2 separate regions of the Homo sapiens genome follow, and region 1 is linked to region 2. Evidence: promoter capture Hi-C in 16 types of primary human blood cells and fetal thymus (Javierre and others, 2016). All regions are on one chromosome and are shown on one strand. The core of a region is centred on a gene start or on the middle of the fragment in contact, and the rest is flanking DNA. Distances in the headings are between cores, read along the strand shown. Region 1 overlaps RBMS2 (RNA binding motif single stranded interacting protein 2). Region 2 holds the start of ACKR5 (atypical chemokine receptor 5).

Evidence for each region. Contacts are between HindIII fragments. The CHiCAGO score rates a contact against its expected background, and 5 or more counts as called.
Region 1: a fragment that was not itself captured here is called in contact with the fragment with the promoter of ACKR5 in region 2 in 1 of 17 cell types (total B cells); the score reaches 5.2 in total B cells.

What each region holds. Positions count from the first base shown.
Region 1 is chr12:56,575,693-56,579,058 of GRCh38, reverse strand. The region is part of intron 5 of RBMS2 (RNA binding motif single stranded interacting protein 2); the gene reads right to left. Among named protein-coding and RNA genes, the nearest start is that of BAZ2A, 53 kb to the left of the region's middle. The HindIII fragment of the contact is 8,053 bases long and covers 1-3,366 here.
Region 2 is chr12:56,992,319-56,995,922 of GRCh38, reverse strand. ACKR5 (atypical chemokine receptor 5) reads right to left here and starts at 1,431. Exons shown (of 2, transcript NM_007264.4): 1 at 1,275-1,431; 2 at 1-729. The coding sequence starts at 713. LOC124902945 (a long non-coding RNA gene) reads left to right here and starts at 529. Exons shown (of 4, transcript XR_007063333.1): 1 at 529-654; 2 at 2,369-2,534. The HindIII fragment of the contact is 5,398 bases long and covers 1-2,156 here.

The DNA.
Region 1 (3,366 bases), core at 238-2,737, 420 kb after region 2:
GCAAGTTGTCAATTCACACATAAAAAATCAATTTTGATGACAGAACACCTTGGTTCTTGGCATATAATTCAGAAGGATTTTTTTGTTTGTTTTTTTAGATGGAGTCTCGCTCTGTTGCCCAGGCTGGAGTACAGTGGTGCAATCTCGGCTCACTGCAACCTCCTCCTCCCAGGTTCAAACGATTCTCCTACCTCAGCTCCCAAGTAGCTGGGATTACAGGCATGAGCCACCACGCCTGGCTAATTGCTGTATTTTCAGTAGAGATGGGGTTTCACCATGTTGTCCAGGCTGGTCTCAAACTTCTGGCCTCAAGTGATCTGCCTGCTTCGGCCTCCCAAAGTGCTGGGATTACAGGCACAAGCCACCACACCTGGCCAGAAGAAATTTTTAAAATTCCTGTTTTAACAAAATCCTTTCCACTCCCATCTACTTATTTATGAGAACAAGGTTTCTCAGCATGAAAACAAAAAGCAGAAACAGAACTGGCATTAAACTCTCCCTTGTTACAGTAATAAACAATATTAATTTATGCTTACCTGTCCTAATTAGAAAAATCTAAACAAAACAAAACCTATCCATGTCATAGATGCTTCTGTATATGCAATAAAATTTACTTCTATAAAATAATTTGGCCAGGTGTGGTGGCTCACCTCTGTAATCCCAGCACTTTGGGAAACCGAGTTGGGTGGATCACTTGAGGCCAGGAGTTCGAGACCAGCCTGGCCAACTGGGTGAAACCCTGTCTCTACTAAAAATACAAAAATTAGCTGGGCATGGTGGCATGCACCTGTAATCCCAGCTACTTGGGAGGCTGAGGCACAAGAATCGCCTGAACCCGGGAGGCGGAGTTTACAGTGAGCTGAGATCACACCACTGTAATCCAGCCTGGGCAACAGAGCGAGACGCCATCTCAAAAAAATAAAAAAAAAAATTTGGGCCAGGAACAGTAGCTCATGCCTCAATCCCAGCACTTTGAAAGGCTGAGGCAGGAGGACTGCTTGAGCCCAGGTGTTCAAGACCAGCTTGGGCAAAACAGTGAGACTCCAACTCTACAAAAAAATTAAAAAATTAGGCCGGGTCCAGTGGCTCACGCCTGTAATCCTAGCACTCTGGGAGGCCGAGGCAGGTGGATTGCCTGAGCTCAGCTCAGGAGTTCGAGACCAGCCTGGGCAACATGGTAAAACCCAGTCTCTACTAAAATACAAAAAATTAGCCGGGCGTGGCGGCATGTGCCAGTGGTCCCGGCTACTTGGGAGGTTGAGGCAGGAGAATTGCTTGAACCTGGGAGGCAGAGGTTGCCATGAGCCAAGATTGCAGCACTGCACTCCAGCCTGGGCGACAGAGTGAAACTCCATCTCCAAAAAAAAAATTAAAAAATTAAAAAATTTGCTGCCCCCACCATCCCCCCACCAAAAAATTAGCTGGGCATGGTGGTGGGGGCCTGTAGTTCCAGATACTCAGGAAGCGGAGGTGTAAGGATCACTTGAGCCCAGAAGGTCAAGGCTGTAGTGAGCCAGGATCGTACCAATGCACTCTAGCCTGCACAACCGAGTGAGACCCTGTCTCAATAATAATAATAATAATAATAATAATAATAATAATTTTGTATGAACATTTTATTTTATTTTATTTATTATTATTATTTTTGAGATGGAGTTTCGCTCTTGTTGTCCAGGCTGGAGTGCAGTGGTGTGATCTCGGCTCACTGCAACTTCTGCCTCCTGGGTTCAAATGATTCTCCTGCCTCAGACTCCTGAGTAGCTGGGATTACAGTAGCTGGGATTACAGGCGCTCGCCCAGCTAATTTTTGTACTTTTAGTAGAGACAGGGTTTCACCGAGTTGACCAGGCTGGTCTCGAACTCCTGACCTCAGGTGATCCACCCACCTTGGCCTCCCAAAGTGCTGGGCTTACGGGCGTGAGCCACTGCCCCTGGCCTTGTATGAACATTTTAATATATTTATGTTGTCTGGGCAATTGTGAGCTCATCATTGTAAAGATAACTTTTTTTTTTTTTTTTTTTTGGAATCTCACTCTGTCATCCAGGCTGGAGTGCAGTGGTGTGATCTCAGCTCACTGCAACCTCCATCTCCCAGGTTCAAGTGATTCTCTCACCTCAGCCTCCTAAGTAGCTGGAATTACAGGTGCCCACCAACACACCTAGCTAATTTTTATATTTTTAGTAGAGACGGGGTTTCACCATTTTGGCCAGGCTGGTCTCAAATTCCTGACCTCAAGTGATCCGCCCACCTCAGCCTCCCAAAGTGCTGGTATTATACAGGCATGAGCCACCATGCCTGGCCAAAATTTTTAATTTATATACATATTTTTGTTGCAGAGAAGTATGACAAGATGATCCATAAAGACTTTATAAAAATATTTTACACTAGAATACAATTCTATAGAGAAATGGAATAGAAACAAAATTCTATAGAGAAATGGAATAGAAACACAAGTTCAAGAAGAAAAAAGGAATATAAGAATGATATGAGATTTATGACTCTAGTAGTCCCCCCTTATCCTCAGGAGATACATTCCAAGTCCCCTAGTGGATGCCTGAAACCATGGATAGTACCAAACCCTAGATATACTACGCTTTTTCATCTGATGGCCACAATGGCTACTAAGTGACTAATGGGTGGGTAGCATTTGCAGTGTGGATACTTTGGACAAAGGGTGGGATGGAGCGGACAACATGAAATTTTTTATTTATTTATGTTTTTGAGACAGAATCTCACTGTGTCACTCATGTTAGAGTGCAGTGGTGTGATCTTGGCTCACTGCAACCTCTGCCTCTCAGGTTCAAGCAATTCTACTGCCTCAGCCTCCCGAGTACCTGGGACTACAGGTGCACACTACCACTCCTGGCTAGCTTTGTATTTTTAATGGAGATGGGGTTTTACCATGTTGACCAGGCTGGTCTTGACCTCCTGATCTCAAGTGATCTGCTCGCCTCGGCCTCCCAAAGTGTTGGGATTACAGACATGAGCCACCGAGCCCAGCCTGAAATTTAATCATGCTACTCAGAATGGCATACAATTTAAAAACTTTGTAACTATTTCTGGACTTTTCCATTTAATATTTTCAGTTGACTGTGGGTAACTGAAACCATAGAAAGTAAAACCATAAATAAGGGGGGACCACTCTATTTTTTTTTTTTTCTTTGAGATGGAGTTTTGCTCTTGTCGCCCAGGCTGGAGTGCAATGGCGTGATCTCAGCTCACCGTAACCTCCGCCTCCCAGGTTCAAATGATTCTCCTGCCTCAGCCTCCTGAGTAGCTGGGATTACAGGCATGCGCCACCATGCCCAGCTAATTTTGCATTTTTAGTAGAGACGGGGTTTTTCCACGTTGGTCAGGCTGGTCTC
Region 2 (3,604 bases), core at 182-2,681:
TTGAAGACTGTGATGAGAGGGAAGGGCAGCAGGAAGCCCAGGATGGTGGTGGACAGGGCCACCGCCAGGGCCCAGGTGCTGTACGTTTCAAAAGGTGCCATGAAGAGGCACATGGGCTCAGGGCCCTCCACCAGCTGGATGTGGACCACCTCAGGCAGCGGGATGATGGCCGAGAGGACCCAGATGCCTGCACACATGGCCCGCCGCACTCGGTGCTGGTAACGCTGCCAGGAGGGGGAGGCGCTGGTGAGGGTGACATAGCGGTCGACACTGAGGCACACCAGGAAGAAGATGCTGCTATACATGTTGACAAAGTAGAAGTAGTGAGTGAAGCGGCAGGAGAAGCTGCCCCAGAGCCAGGTGTAGTCCAGCGTGACCTCCAGCATCCACACGGGCAGAGACAGGACAATGCCCAGGTCCGCGATGGCCATGTTGAGGATGTAGAGGTTCATCAGCCCTGCCCGGCCTGAGCCGCGCCAGTTGACGCATATCACCAGGAGGTTCTCCACCAGCCCAACCACAAACATGGCCAGGTAGAGGGCAAAGAGGACCACGCGCTTGGTGCTCTGGCTGAGCTCCACGTGGCACTCAGACAAAGTGTGGTTGAAGAGGTCAAGCAGCTCGGTCCAGTTGTGGATCTCTCCAAGGTCACTGGTAGGCACTGCGGTGACCCCCTCCGAGGGGCCAGGCCCCCAGCTGGGTTTCACTGACATTGGGACCAGCACACGCCTATTGGGATGAAGGGAGGGTTGGAAGGGAAAGCAGACCTCGAGAGCCTTGTGTCCTCAAGGTAGAGGCCAGAGGGAGTCGGGGGCTTTGGGGAAAGATTCTGGGGCTAAGGCAAGAAAGGGAAGTTTAGCTTTCAAACTGTGAATAAATAATACACAACTCACTTGCTAGCTCTGACCCAAGAGCAGAGATACTTTCTTAAGGGGTTTCAGCTGGAAGAGGCCAGGACTGTTGGTGTCCACCAACATTTCTCCCCACCCCCAGCCAGTTCCCCCTCAACAACCCCCTCAATCCCCCCACACCCACCATTCCTAGGTGGTCTCCAACCTCCACCTCTCTCCTGGCACTTCATTCCTCAGCCCTTTTGCACAGATCTTTATTGCTCTTTTTCTGTCTTGTTATTTGGACCGTGAGTGTGGAACACACACACACACACGCACACCACACAATCTGATTCATCCCTAGGAAAACCTGTGGATCATGCAGGATAGCCAGTTGTCTCCAAGCCCTGATTCCCATCTTCCCTGGGAGAGGGCGACACTCACCTGAGTTTCCCTTGGGAGCCCCTCGGTCCTGGAGGGAGGGCCGGCAGGTCCAGGCTATGGGGAGCTGTGAGGAGGCTGGGGGGCCCTTGGCTGTGGGGCTGGCTTCCCTGCTGGCTTCACGGCCGCCCTTCTCATCCGGGAAGTAGCTGTCACTGCTGAGGCTCTGTAGGGAGGGATGGGGTTTTTCCTGCATTCCCCCAATCCGGTTACAGGGGATGTCCCAGCAAAAGACCCGGTGTGCCAGTGGCGGGGAGGTCATACTGCCAGCATTAAAATCCCAGCTCCTCCCTCACCCGCTGAATGAATTTACCTCTTTCCTCAGCCTCAGTGCTCTCCTCTGCAAAGTGGGGTCTATTATCTACTAAAAGGGATGCTTTGAGAATTAAAGGAGCTGTTGAGGGAGGGAAAGTGCTTAGCTCAGGTGGGGCCTGTGGCAAATGCTTTACGTATGTATGTATTTTCCTCTCCCTAAGTCAGCTTGGAATCCCTCTCTCCCCTGTCTTGATTCCTACTAGAGTGAAATTGGATGTGGGGGTATAGGGGAGGGTCAAAATAAATCTGAACATCAGTTGGGCTTTTAATAACTCTGGCCCACCCCTGCCATTCTCCCCAGCCCCTCACAGGGCTGTGAGCTCCCTGCCTTCATCTTGTGATTGGAGGTGAGAATCTGGGAAAGAAAAGATTGAATGGCTGGGCATGGTGGCTCACGCCTGTAATTCCAGCATTTTGAGAGGCTGAGGCAGGAGAATCGCTTGAGCCCAGGAGGCGGAGGTTGCAGTGAGCTGAGATCAGGTCACTGCACTCCAGCCTAGGTGACAGAGTTAATAAAAAAAAATAAAAATAAGATTGAATGCGGGGTGTCAAGGGGGCTTTGTCAAAGCTTCAGGGAGATTCCTGAGTAGGGAGGGAGAGAGAGAATGGCGCCCTCCCCCTGTGGCTCTATACTTCTCTGCGTGAAGGGTGTGGTGGGTGGCTGGCAGGGGATGAGCAGGGGATGGGGCGTGGGGTAGGGAGAGCAGACTTCTCTCTCCCGCCAAGCTAGAGGGTAAGGGACTCTAAGCCACGTGTTATGGGTAAACATTTTGTGTCAGCAGAGCTTCCTGCCCTTCAGAGCGCTTTCACCTCACTTCATCTCGTTGGATTCTGGAGATACCCCTGTGGGGAGGATGGATTTCTTCACCCTCTTTGAGGCCCAGAGAAGTTGTCTGTTACACAAGCCACACTTGGCAGATGGCAGAGTGGCCTAGGCCTGAGCCAAAGGTGTGTCGGCTGGACGGGATTGAGTATATATTAAGTCGAGGTGAAATTCCCATAGCATAAAATTAACCATTTTAAAATGTGTGATTTAATGGCATTTAGACATGCACATTGTGCAAACACCACCTCTGTCTACGTGCTAAACATCTTCATTACCCGCAAAGAAAACCCCATAACCATTAAGCAGTCAATCCTATTCCCCCCACCACCAACCTTCTGCTTCCTGTCCCTGTGGATTTACCTATTCTGGATACTTAATAGAAAGGGAACCATATCATATGTGACATTCAGTGTCTGTGTTTTTTTTTTTCCACTTAGCATGTTTTCAAGGTTCATTCACTTTGGAGCATGCATCCGTACTTCATTTCCTTTCATGGCTGAGTAATATTCCCATATATATATATATATATATACACACACACACACCACATTTTCTTTATCCACTCAAAGAGAACATTTTTTAAAAGTTTGCTCACTGATTCTTTTATTATGGTAAAATATATGTAAGGTTTACCACGTTAACCATTTTTAAGTGTACAATTCAGTGGCGCTAAGTGCATTTACACTGCTGTGCAACCATCAGCACCATTTATCTCCATGGAAGGGAATATTTTTCATTTTGTAGTTTTGTAGTTTTCTTAAACCTTCCACTTACATATCAGATCACTCCAAGATCACAAAATCTATCATGGCCGGTGCAGTAGCTCACACCAGTAATCCCAGCATTTTGGGAGGCCGAAGTGGGAAGACTGCTTGAGCCCAGGAGTTTGAGACCAGCCTGGGCAACAAGATGAGACCCCCATCTCTACAAAAAATAAAATAGCCAGTTGTGGTGGTACAGTCTGTATTTGGGAGGCCGAGGTGGGAGGATCGCTTGAGACTAGGAATTCAAGGCTGCAGTGAGCCATGATCACCCTGCTGCACTGAAGCCTGGGTGATGGGATCTAGAGAGCTAGATCCCATCTCCTAAAAAAAAAAAAAAAAAAAAAAAATAATGGGCTAGGCTAGGTGGCTCATGCTTGTAATCTTGGCACTTTGGGAGGCTGAGACAGGTGTATCACCTGAGGTCAGGA